Regions from separate parts of the Homo sapiens genome. Here region 1 is linked to region 2. Evidence: promoter capture Hi-C in 16 types of primary human blood cells and fetal thymus (Javierre and others, 2016). All regions are on one chromosome and are shown on one strand. The core of a region is centred on a gene start or on the middle of the fragment in contact, and the rest is flanking DNA. Distances in the headings are between cores, read along the strand shown. Region 1 has its middle 210 kb from the start of RBMS3-AS3. Region 2 holds the start of RBMS3 (RNA binding motif single stranded interacting protein 3).

Region 1 (5,624 bases), core at 508-3,007, 220 kb before region 2:
GTAGTAACTAATACGTCAACCACAAGCTGATTTGAATAGCATTTTCATGGTGCATACCAACACTAATAACTGTGTGGTTTCCTCATAACCTCAGCAGGTTGTATTTATATACTGACAAAAGGACCATGTAAAATCCATGCACAGCTGGTCATCAGAAGGACTATAAAACACTAGGGTTTGTCATACATGTGGTAATTATAAAGTGAGGCTGTGCAGTGTTCCCTAAACCTTGAAAACAAAGCTTCAACTTAATCCTTAAGTGAACTGTTTTGGGTTGGCTTATCACACAGAAGCCCACTCAACAATACCTCCAAGGCAGTTTGTCCTTTGAAGAGAGAGGGGAAAAAAACATAAAATTCACAATAGTCAGTGTTGTGTTATTCAGTTGGTTACATATGGAAACACAAATCTTTGGATTGTCAACACTACTTTCATAACAGAAAGAAACATTTCATTTTGAAAACGTTTCCTTCCATTTTCTTTTACTGTTTGATGCTTGTTTGTACAGTTCATAATCTAATAATCTGAATTACAGCAATACTTTCTTGCATATTGTCCATGCTGAAATAAAAGTACATTGAAAGCTTTAGTTTTATGAAGTGCATACTGCATATGGAGATTTGTTTTCTAAGTAAACACTAAGCAATTTATGCACTAGTAGCATTCAAATCTCTGATGCTGTTTTGGGATAATTCTCAAGGATTTATGACTTTCATGAATTTCTCTCTAACCAACCTAGATGTACTTCAGAATTTTATCATTGTTTTTGACCAAATACCTTGAGTTTGAAGGCTGCTGTGGAAAGTACTCCATATACAAAGATTGGATAAAATCTGAGGCTTTTCAGAATGCTAAAGAAGATTTCAATTCTGCTGCCCTCCCAAAATTAAAAAACAAATCTTCAAAGCTCTGTGTTATTTTTACATTTTGTTTATGAAAATAAAATAAAATGTTGGACCACTTTTGATAATATTTAAGTTGACCAAATCACATTTGTTTTCACCAAATGAAGAAATTCTTCATTTACTGTATCACTTTAGTTTTCCTTCTCATGACTCCTTTGCCAAGAAAACAGATTTTGCAATCAGATGCCTACTAGCTGGGTGTTCATGAGCTGTGATGGATTACTTTTAATAGGTGCTATTTTCCTACTTCATTAACTGCTCTTTTTCTGATGGTGTTTTTTGGGTCAAGTTAGAAAAGAAACAAAGGTTTAACCATTTACCCAAATAGGCAATGACGCTAAGTGTATTTTTTTAAAGTTGATTATGTACACACAAGGATGTGTTTATTTTGGGAGTATGTGTGAGTAAGAGCTTGAGTGTGTGTGAATGTGTTGTTTTTTTCAACTTAAAACTCTTTGCCTGGCCAACTGCCATCTCCATGCCAGTCTCCATGGCAACTTCCTTAAGGATAAAGTAACAGAAATGTGAGGAGGCTGCCTGCCCACAAACAAAGCTGCCACAGCCCTGCCAGAGGCCTGACTAGACAGAATCCCGGAACACTCCACATTCCATGAGAGTTCTGCAGGTTACTGCAGCTAGCTCCATTTAAAGGTGCAGTGCCTCTAGTCCTGGGAGGAAAGTTTAAAAATGTCTTCTGACTAGTCTTTCCATATATTAGAATGTAGATATGCAACCCACATGTCTTGACATTATTTTTCCCTTCCCATCTACATTGAATAAACATTTTATATCTAGCATTTATTTTTTAGTGATATTTGGAAATTTGCTTGACAGAGACCTTTGCCTAATATTGTGTGTTGTATGTACATCACATCAGGATGTGATGTATGTACCTTTAAAATACTTGTATAAAATATAAAATATTGAAAAAGTGAGACTAAATATCTTGATCCATTCTGCTTTCTTAAAAAAAGTGTCTGCTTTCTAATCTTAATGGATTTATGCATGTTTTTCCAAGAAATCAATAAAATTATTAAAATTCATAGTATATTAACATATATAATATATATTATATATAACAGTAATTTTCAAATGGTAGCAATCTTCCATAGGACACTTGGCAATATCTCAGTGGATATTGGTTGTCACAACTGGGGCCATGATACTGGTATCCAGTGGTTAGAGTCCTGGGGGAGCTTTTAAATATCCTACAATCAATAGAATAGCTCCCATAGCAAAGGATTACTGGCCTGAAATGTCAATAATACGAAGGTTGGGAAACCCTAGTATACATACATAGATGTTATATATGTATGTATGTATGTGTGTATGTACATACCAATTTAAAAATAAAGATTATAAGGTGTAGAGAGCTTAAATAGGAATAAACTATGCTAAGGCAACTTTCTAAGTTGTTTTTGCTCTGTCTCCTCAAACTGGGTACCAGAACTCTGATGACAACTGTCAATCTAGAGTCCACTGTCCAGGATTATCTATACAATGTATTTAGTATCTCTATAGCAATTGTTTTTTAAGACCACAAAAGAATACCTAAGAAGACCAGGCCTAGGCTAGGGAGTAAGAACTATGTGTAGTTTACTCTGTCTCTAAGAGTGTTTTCTATGCAATGAACTATACATCATATACAAGCTGTTTTTTACCTTAACTATTAATTCTTTCCCATTAGGAATTAGTAAAATGCTTCATAATTATGGCTAAGGGAAATATTTATGATCTTCAGCATACAGATTGCTCATTTCATCTCCAAAGTTTTGCTAATACTATTCAGGCTGTTTATGTTGTTGTTACCCCATAATATTCAACACAGTGTTTATATCAGTTATGTTAACCAGTTATGGAAAATCCTGAGTTTCTGGTTACCCAAATGAAAAGTTTACTTTAAACACAAGCCAAGGAAGTTTGGTTATGTTCAGCAGTGCTACTCAAAGTATGATTTCCTAAACTGGTGAATGACTACAACCATTTGATTACTGGTCTGTAACAAAATAGGTATAGAAATTAAAAATAAGCTTTTAGAAATTTTAATAACAATTTTGTAATGTCACAGCATCTAAGCATGTCTCATCAAACAGCTTGAGGTGTTGTCAAATTCATGTGGTGAGTCATAGAGTCACTAGCTATGAACTAGTCATCATGATCTCTAGCTACGAACTGGTGTGATCATATAAACTCACATAGTGAGATAGTATGTTGGGTCTGTGATAGATTGGAAATTAATTTTAACAATAACCAAAAGTCGGCCAGGTGCAGTGGCTCACGCCTATAATCCCAGCTACTCCGGAGGCTGAGGAATGAGAATTGCTTGAACCTGGGAGGTAGAGGTTGCAGTGAGCCGAGATCACGCCACTGCACTCCAGCCTGGGCAACAGAGCGAGACCCCATCTCAAAAACAACAACAACAAAAAACCCTGAAACTCCCTGATATGAGAAACACAATCATATTTACTATATTTTTATTACCTGGAAATGTCTTCTCATTCTATTTATGTCCAGATAAAAGTCAGTTCTGCTTTTTGGACATATATGGTTTAGCCTTCCCTGTGATTTGTTGCAATGTTGAGGTTAGTTACTTCTTATAGGTAGAGTAATGTATGGATTTGGTACAACCTACAAAAGGTCTTCTCTTGGAGAGAAATGAACATCATGAGTATCAGGATATGATAGATCATGCTGCTGTAGTCAACAACCCTAAGTATCAGAGGCTTAAATCAACAATTTATTTCTGGCTAACACTACCTATCTATCATGGGCAAGCAGGGACTCTCCTATTGTTTCCAGGTTAGTCAGTCCAGAACTCAGGCTGATGGAGCATCTACCATGTTTAACTTTGCTGATTACTGCCAGGAGGAAAAAAGATTTTGGCCATTCTTTCACCAAGTAACTAATTCACATGTCACTTCTCTCCCCTCAGTAGCCAGATCTACCACTTGACCCTATCCCACCATGCAAGAAAAGAGTGCAAATCTAACATGTGCCCAGAGTGTAGGGATTCATAGAGATTTGGTGAACTCCATTAATGACTATGGCACTAGAAAGCTTCTGGGTATTACTATTAAGTGCATATTTTTGCCTTTAATCCTTGGGTTTTACTCTTTAGTATATCACTTTCACATTTGCACAGGCATAGGAGGCAGCATGGGGAAGCTGACAGACTACTTCCTTTGACTTTAGATTGAATCCCAACCCTACATCTTAGCTGTGGTATAACCATACATAAATTCTTTAATCACTTTGAAATGAGACAATAATGCTCACATCATGTGTTGTAATGAAGATTAAGTTGGATAACCTTCATTAAATGAAGACTAAGTTGGATAACCTTCATTAAACGAGTAACTTTCATATTATTAAGTGCAGGCAGATGGAAGTATTTATTGTTAGGCAATAATAATTTTAGCTCAGCTTACAAAAAGTATTTTTGGGTCTGGAAAAATATAACTAATATTGGTATTGATTTAGGTAGAACTCAGCTATTGAACCATGGTAGATTCTGAAGCATCTTTTGAATCTTGTCTGTTGGTGTTGATCTAGCCAACAGATTTTGAATTATTCTTGGTGAAATCATGGTGGTTGGAAGATATGAGTTATCAAATTTCTCCTTTGGGTAAAAATGTTTCTAATCTTTCAGAAATTTCTCTATTAAGGCATTTTGTGTTGCCACTTAGGTACTTATTGTTCTGCAATACAGCGTAATATTGTTTCTAGAAATCAAAAATGTAATGTGGCTCTTATTTGAAATTTCTGTTCAATTTCAGTTGATTTTCTGGCGAATTGCATATTTTTTCTGTTTAAGAGTTTATTATATAGGTTAATTCTTTTTAAAAGAGAGATTACTTAATATACTCAAACTAAACCTAATAATAATAATATATCAGAAGATTATTTGCGGAAATACCAGATGCTGTTGATGATCAGGCAATTTTGTCTTTCTGGCAACAGAAAAGGCACCCAGCAGTAGTAAAACATGTATCAGTGACTGATTCCCAGCCAGTATAGGAGTAACACTCCAGTTTTTAAAATTTTTTCTGTTCCCGTGTTTGCTTAGGGTAATGGCCTCCAGTTACATCCAGGTTGCTGCAAAGCACATGATCTCATTATTTGTAGTGGCTGCATAGTATTCCATGGTGTGTATGTGCTACATTTTCTTGGTCCAGTCTACTGTTGATGGACATTTGGGGCGATTCTATTGATTCTATGTCTTTGCTATTGGGAACAGTGCTACAGTGAACATAAGCATCCATATATCTTTACCATAGAATGATTTAGATTCCTTTGGGTATATACTCAATAACGGGATTGCTGGGTTGAATGGTAATTCTAAGTTTTTTGAGAAATTGCCAAACTGCTTTCCAGAAAGACTGAACTAATTTACATTCCCACCAGCAGTGTATAAGCACTACCTTTTCTCCAAGACCTCGTCAGCATCTGTTATTTTTTGACTTTTTAATAATGGCCATTCTGACTGGTATGAGATAATATATCATTGTGGTTTTGATTTGCATTTCTCTAATGATTAGCAATGTGGAACTTTTTTTTTTGTATACTTGTTTGCCTTGTCTATGACTTTTGAAAAGTGTCTGTTCATATCCTTTGCCCACTTTTTAATGGAGTTGTTTTTTGCTTATAAGTTTGTTTAAGTTCCTTATAGATTCTGGATATTAGACCTTGGTTAGATGCATAGTTTGCAAATATTTTCTT
Region 2 (6,226 bases), core at 362-2,861:
CCTATTCCAAAGAGTCAGGACTTTATTGTTTGAGAAACGTGACACCACTGGAGGATTTTTAAATCAGTGTCATTTTTAGTGTCTGATTCAGTGTACTGCCTTCAGCCAGGAGAGTTGGCAGTATTTCTATTTTATAGATGGGACAACTGAGGCCCCAAATAATACATTTAAGAGATAGGTGGGGTTGATTTAATATTCTCAATCACCATGTTGTCAGGGCCTCCTAACTCTTACCCTCTCACCCTCCATCCTTCCTTCCTTCTGATTGTTATTCTTGTCAAAAGTAAAACATAAAACTATTTACCTGCCATCCTTATTTTTATCCAAGGAACACGTATGCACTCACACAGCTTCCAGAAACCAGTTCCCCTCGGTGGAAGCCAGTTGCTTTAGGGGTGGTGCGGCTTGTATGTGGATGGACACCATGTGTGCACTGAGCCCAAATTCTCTGTTCTTCTTGACTAGGAAGCTGGATTTGTACCAGGGACCTTTTATCTAAATAGGAGACTCTGGGCTCAGGAGAACAGAGCCGACTTGACAAAGTAGAAAAGAGCTCAGTATTGGTCTGCCCACGCTTTGGGCATGCGTGAGCACTCGCAGCAAAACACAGCTGGCACATCTAATTTTAGCCTCGCCCGCCTTGAAAAGGGACCCTTTAAGGAAATATATTTTATCTGAAACAATTTGTATTATAATGTAGCAGCTGATAGACATGACAGAATATTATCATTGGTGGGAAAAAACTCTGCCAAGCAATTATGATTTTTGTTCTTTTTTTTTTAGATGATATCAGTAAAGTGATTAAAGCATCAATGCAACAAAATAATCATAAAGAGAGAGACAATGGGAGAAACAGATTTTATCTGTAAAATATCTGACGAACCTAAGGGGTCACTTCCTTTGATTTTTTTTTTTTTTTTTTTTACAAAATGGATGTATTTTAAAAAAGTTATTATTTTTGATATGTTCAGTTGATCAGTCCAATCTGATGACATGTGGCATTAATAGTAGTCCTGGAGTAGACCCTAAAATTTCTTCAATACTTAACATCCACCAAGTTTTCCAGGTAGTAAAAGGTTAGTTTCTCAATCAGCTCTTGGATGCGTCTGGCTCTAGCGTGTTAACAGATTTTGAAAGCATCCGGGACTTACTTTTTTCCCCTTTAACCAGCAAGGTTAGTTCCCCTGCCTTTATTTCTTTTCCTTTCTCCTCCTTCCTTCTTTCGTCCTCTCTTCCCTCTCTTCTGTGTTTTGTTTAGCAGTGTGGCTTACCTTGGAACTTGGCAAAAAGAGGAACAAAAAGCAGCTCTTGTGTGGGGTAGATGGAGGAGGGATAAGAAATAATCCACCGCCCGCATTTGAGTTCTTCAGGTTCAGTTCCAGCGGCAGCAGCGTTGCTGCAAAAATCGCTTGCTATTCGAGATAGCCAGCAGAGGGAATCGGAACTTTGCTTGCAGCAGGGGTTGAAGCAGCCTTTTTTTTTTTTTTTCTTGGAGGAAATACTGCAGCCTTCTGGACTGCGTACGCTGCTCCCTGGAGAGGCTCTCTCGGTTCCACCCACCGGCTGGAAGGAGGGGAAGTGAATGAAAGGACAGGACAAGCCCCGAACACCATGTCACTCTGGGAGGGAGACAGCAGCAACTAAGCTGTACAAGGTTTTTTTTTTTTTTTTTTCTTCCTTTTTTTCTTTTTTTTTTTCTTTTTCCCCTTTCTTTTTCTTTCTTTCTTTCTTTTTCTTTCTTTCTTTCTCTTTCTCTCTCTCTTTTTTCTTTTTCTTTAAGGTGGGGAAAGAGACAACCAAGAGACAGGAAGCTGATCTGCAAGGATTCGGAGTTGTGCTAAAAGGACTTTGATTTTTTTCCCCCTTTACGAACGCTGGCAATTGACATCACTACAGACAGCCTGGTTAGAGAACAAACTGCCTCATCCCAAGTGGACCCCGGCAGCTGGGGGAAGCCAGGCAAGATCTGGGAAGGCTGTGTGTGGGTGTTTTTTCTACAGATCTCACTCCTCGCCCTTTTTTTTTTTCCTTTGGTGTGTGTTTTTTGTTTTGTTTTGTTTTTTAAAAAAATTCTTGCTGTGTTGGAACTAGCGAGTGGTGGAGTCTCTGAAGCCTCATCAGTCACCGGGACTGTCAGGAATAGTGGTTTAAGAGGAAGCTCGGCCTGGGGCACTATACCCTGTCATCCAGTTCCCTGCCTCGGAGATAAAGATTCCAGCTACATGGGCAAACGCCTGGATCAGCCACAAATGTACCCCCAGTACACTTACTACTATCCTCATTATCTCCAAACCAAGGTATGGCTTGACCCACGGTCTGGCGATCAGCGTGGTATCGTTCTGCACTTGGGATGGGAAACAGACAGGCGTGTGAATTATTAGTTAACCCCCACCCCCATCACTTCTTCCTGCTTCTTTGAAATTAGTGACATACCAATGGAGTTAATGAGGCAGAGGAAGACATAAGAAGAAAGCAGCAAACCCGGAATTGTAGCTTTCTCTTTAAGGAGAGATAATAGTTTCACTTGAGTTCAGTTTCTTTGTTGTTATTTGGCAGCATAAATGGTCCTGATATCAGGAACGTCTTTTGCAGATGGGCACGGTTTTTAGAAAGCAGATCACAACAGTGATTACCAGGCACAAGAATATAATTTCAGGGGCTTTTCTGGTGAGCTGTTCTTTGATTGTGGCTCTAAAAGGGTTTTTCCCACTGGATAGGACGTGCAACGGTGGGGGTAACTCAAACTTTTAATCGCAGGGTATAGAATGAAAGAAGGGTGTGAGAAGGTATAGGGCTCCTACCAGAGTCTCTGAGAGTTTATTTTTATTTTTAATTTGCCTTGCCTATTTTATTTTATGTTGAGGATGATCAGCATGCTACAGACTGCTTTACAATAGATGTTCTTTACTTTTAGAAGATCTATTTTTCTGTGTAGCTGCCATGAGGAGGCCTGAGTCTTGAAAAGGAATGAAATGTAACTGATCATAATTGGACTTGAATTGGTTAAATACTTTAGGCTTTATGTGTGTGTGTCAAATGACCATTAGGGGCCCAGAGGCAAGCCCACGTAAGTAAGCAGTGGGCAGTACCTACCCTGAACTTTATCCTGCAGTTAAGACATGAAAGACTCTCAGGTGTGAAATCACTGCTCCGATTTGTCAATTAAATTGGACTTGATTAGGGGGAAAACATGTTAGCGGAGTGACCACCTCGAGTGTACGGGTGATATTATTTTGTATTGCATTAGCATTAGCCAGACTCCACCGTCTCCTTAATAAATAAATATGCCGAGAGTGAACAAGGCGTGCCTGAATGATCTATGCTGTCACCAGGACTCGGTGATGTGATTAGGGTTAGGTAATTCATGCTGTAGTTATCTGTCATTTATTTTGTCTCGTCCAGCAACGCCTATTTGTAAACCAGACTGGGAAGCAGACTTTCAGTATTATACAAAAGATTATTGCTTTGTTTTTTTCTTTTTCAATTGCTTTGTAATCCACCCTGCCCCTCCAAGGTCGACTCACACTGCTATTTGCCTTTGTGAGCATTTAGTTTGTGCTGCTGATGCTTAAATAGACTAGCCCTCCTGCTCGGTGCCTTAAGTTTTAACTCTTTGGGGGTGTTAGGTTGAGAATGCTGCCTGCCATTCCTCAAGGAAATGGCAGAGCAAGGACAAGTTAAAAGGGGAAAATTTACAGTCATTTCTCATGCCTCAACAAAACAAAAACAATAAACTCAAAGGTTGCATGAAAAATATCAGACATTCCATCCCTTTTACTCATTTGGCTACATTTTTCCAAGTGTTTCAAAAATTACACTTTGTTTCGGGTCCTTGTTTTCTACTATGGTATATATTCAGAAAAGAAACTTTAGATTGAAATGAATAACATAATTGTTTTTCTGTTTGAGACTTCTTTTAACCTATTACTAACAGGAAATAGTGAATGTTATGCACATTTTTTCAAAGACACAGGCTGCTGGATGAGCTATACTAGTAGAAAGTGTGTGCGAGAGAGAGAAAGATGGGGGGTAAAGAGAGAGAGTGGAGTAGTGAGGGAAAAGAGAGGAGCCTGAAAAATAGGGAGATTGTAGATATCTGTTTTGGAGTTCTATGTAGTTTAGTGTTGTATAGACAGGCGGCATCTGGATCTTGTTACTCTCAAGCTAGCCAACACCTTGAACTTCTGGAACATTTTTAAAGAAGTTAGATCCATTAGGCGTCCTATGTTGATATTTGGATAATCAGATCAGGATAGTAGGGAATATAAGATCAGCTATTTTGCCTATCATGGTAGTTCACATTGATTATTATGTTGTAAAATGTTGACAATGCTTTGAAGTTGTCCTGTATTGTTATGGTGGCTCTGAAATGACAGACATTAATAGCATTCCTGGAAGCTGAAGATGAGAAAATGTGCCCTGTTTTGAAACTTGCATAGAGAGGAAATGAGATGAAGAGTCAATGTGCAATCATATTTTAAAATGTGGGTACTGGGGATTTTCTGACAGGGTTAATACTATACAATGAAGTACCATCATGTTTCAGTGTAACAGGAAAACAACTGGGTTATTTCCACATCACTTTTTGTTCCTTCTACACTTATACCTCAAAATATAATTTATAATCATTTTAAATGAAGTACATGCTGCTTATATTTATTTGGTAAGCCTGGGTGGAATTCATAAAATCCACTCTTTGTAGCCTTGGCTTGGAGTTATAATCCAATTTGAAATTCATAGCTATTTAAAATGATGCTGATATGTCAATAATACTTATGTTTGATGAAAATAGAGTCTACGGTAGGTAAAAATCGTATTCTGGTGATAACATATCTTAAATTTTTCTCTAAATTGAGGTAGGTTTTCTTCCTGCCAATCCACAAGGGCTATTTACTATCATTAGTTTTTTGGGGAAAATCTTCATGGGATTTTAAAGGATTGAAATGTTTATTACTACATTATTTCAGAAAATGCACACATGCTGAACTCTCTTTTTCTACTTGTGTAATGATAAATACCTTTGCTATTTTTTAATGATAAAACAAAATGAAAATGAGATTTAAGAAATAAATGCAGATGTTTCCATTCCCTGGAATACATAGTAAAGTTTTAGAAGAACTTGCGACACTTCCCTGCCTTCTCTGCTCCTATTATTTTCCATTGCATTGGAATGAATCTCTCAACTTTGTTTCTTTAAAAGTAAATGTTTATGCTCCTTCAAATAATTTTTCAAATCCTTAAAATGTTATATATTAGAAAAATATACATGTAAGTTAAGATGAAAACCCAGTGGCTGACTCATATCTATAATGTGTAACAATGTTGTCATCCTGTGCTCCCTCTTTCACACCTCACGTCTTTAAAAAGTTGTCATTTGTCAATTTTCTTTTTGATGAATTTTTCTTTTTTTTTTTTTTTTTTTTTACCAAAAGAAGCAATTTCAAGGAGGAACATTACTTCGCTTAAGGAATAATGAAGAAATCTTAGTGATATGTTGTAATATTTAAATAAGAAACAACCGGATGAAAAAATAGTTTATCAAGGCAAATTTGCTGTTTGGAAGGGACACCCAGAATAATCAGCAAGTTTTAGAGAAAAAGGGCTCAAAAAATAGTTCATTAGCTTAATGACAAAATACAAAATGTTTGATTAGTTGTAATCCAACATTTTTTAAGTATTTTATCACCCTTTCCAAAAAAAAAACAACCTGTTGCTGTTGACTTATGAGATCCCAGCTGAATTTCATTCTGAATTTTTGAGGTACTTGCCGGGGTGGGGTGGGGGTGGGGGTGGTGGTGGGGAGTAGGTGGGGGTGGATGGGGGGTTCTTGAAAAAAAATTAGTCAAGCTAGGTAAGCTAAAAAGAAGAAAACCTGGTTACAGCCCGGTGAATTGATTTTTTTCCAGCCGAGAAATAGATATTTCTCTCACATATATTTGGAAAACTTTAGTCATCTTCATAAAACTTAAAAAGTTACCTAAGCACACACAGCAAGTTTCTCCTTTCTTCCTTTTCCACACCCTTACCAGTTCACTATGTTTCTACCAATCCAGTGCCCAGTTGCCAATGATGTTGCTCTCACATGAATTTACTGCATTCCCTTCTGGTTCCCCAGAAGGTCTTGAAGAAAGAGGTTCAGACTAGTGGACCCAAACAGAATTTCTTGGCTGGTGATACTCAGATTGTGTTCAGAGCCTGGTATGAAGAAGGGGCCAGGTGTAAGAAG

The links. The method cuts DNA at HindIII sites, captures the fragments that hold promoters and counts their contacts. A CHiCAGO score of 5 or more calls a contact.
Region 1: a fragment that was not itself captured here is called in contact with the fragment with the promoter of RBMS3 in region 2 in 1 of 17 cell types (neutrophils); the score reaches 5.2 in neutrophils.

Annotation. Positions count from the first base shown.
Region 1 is chr3:29,064,184-29,069,807 of GRCh38, forward strand. No RefSeq gene overlaps it. Among named protein-coding and RNA genes, the nearest start is that of RBMS3-AS3, 210 kb to the right of the region's middle. The HindIII fragment of the contact is 2,351 bases long and covers 583-2,933 here.
Region 2 is chr3:29,279,460-29,285,685 of GRCh38, forward strand. It overlaps RBMS3 (RNA binding motif single stranded interacting protein 3), which reads left to right and starts at 1,612. Exons shown (of 15, transcript NM_001003793.3): 1 at 1,612-2,297. The coding sequence starts at 2,223. RBMS3-AS3 (RBMS3 antisense RNA 3) reads right to left here and starts at 1,480. Exons shown (of 3, transcript NR_109804.1): 1 at 1,272-1,480. RefSeq lists an enhancer at 467-516. The HindIII fragment of the contact is 8,241 bases long and covers 1-6,226 here.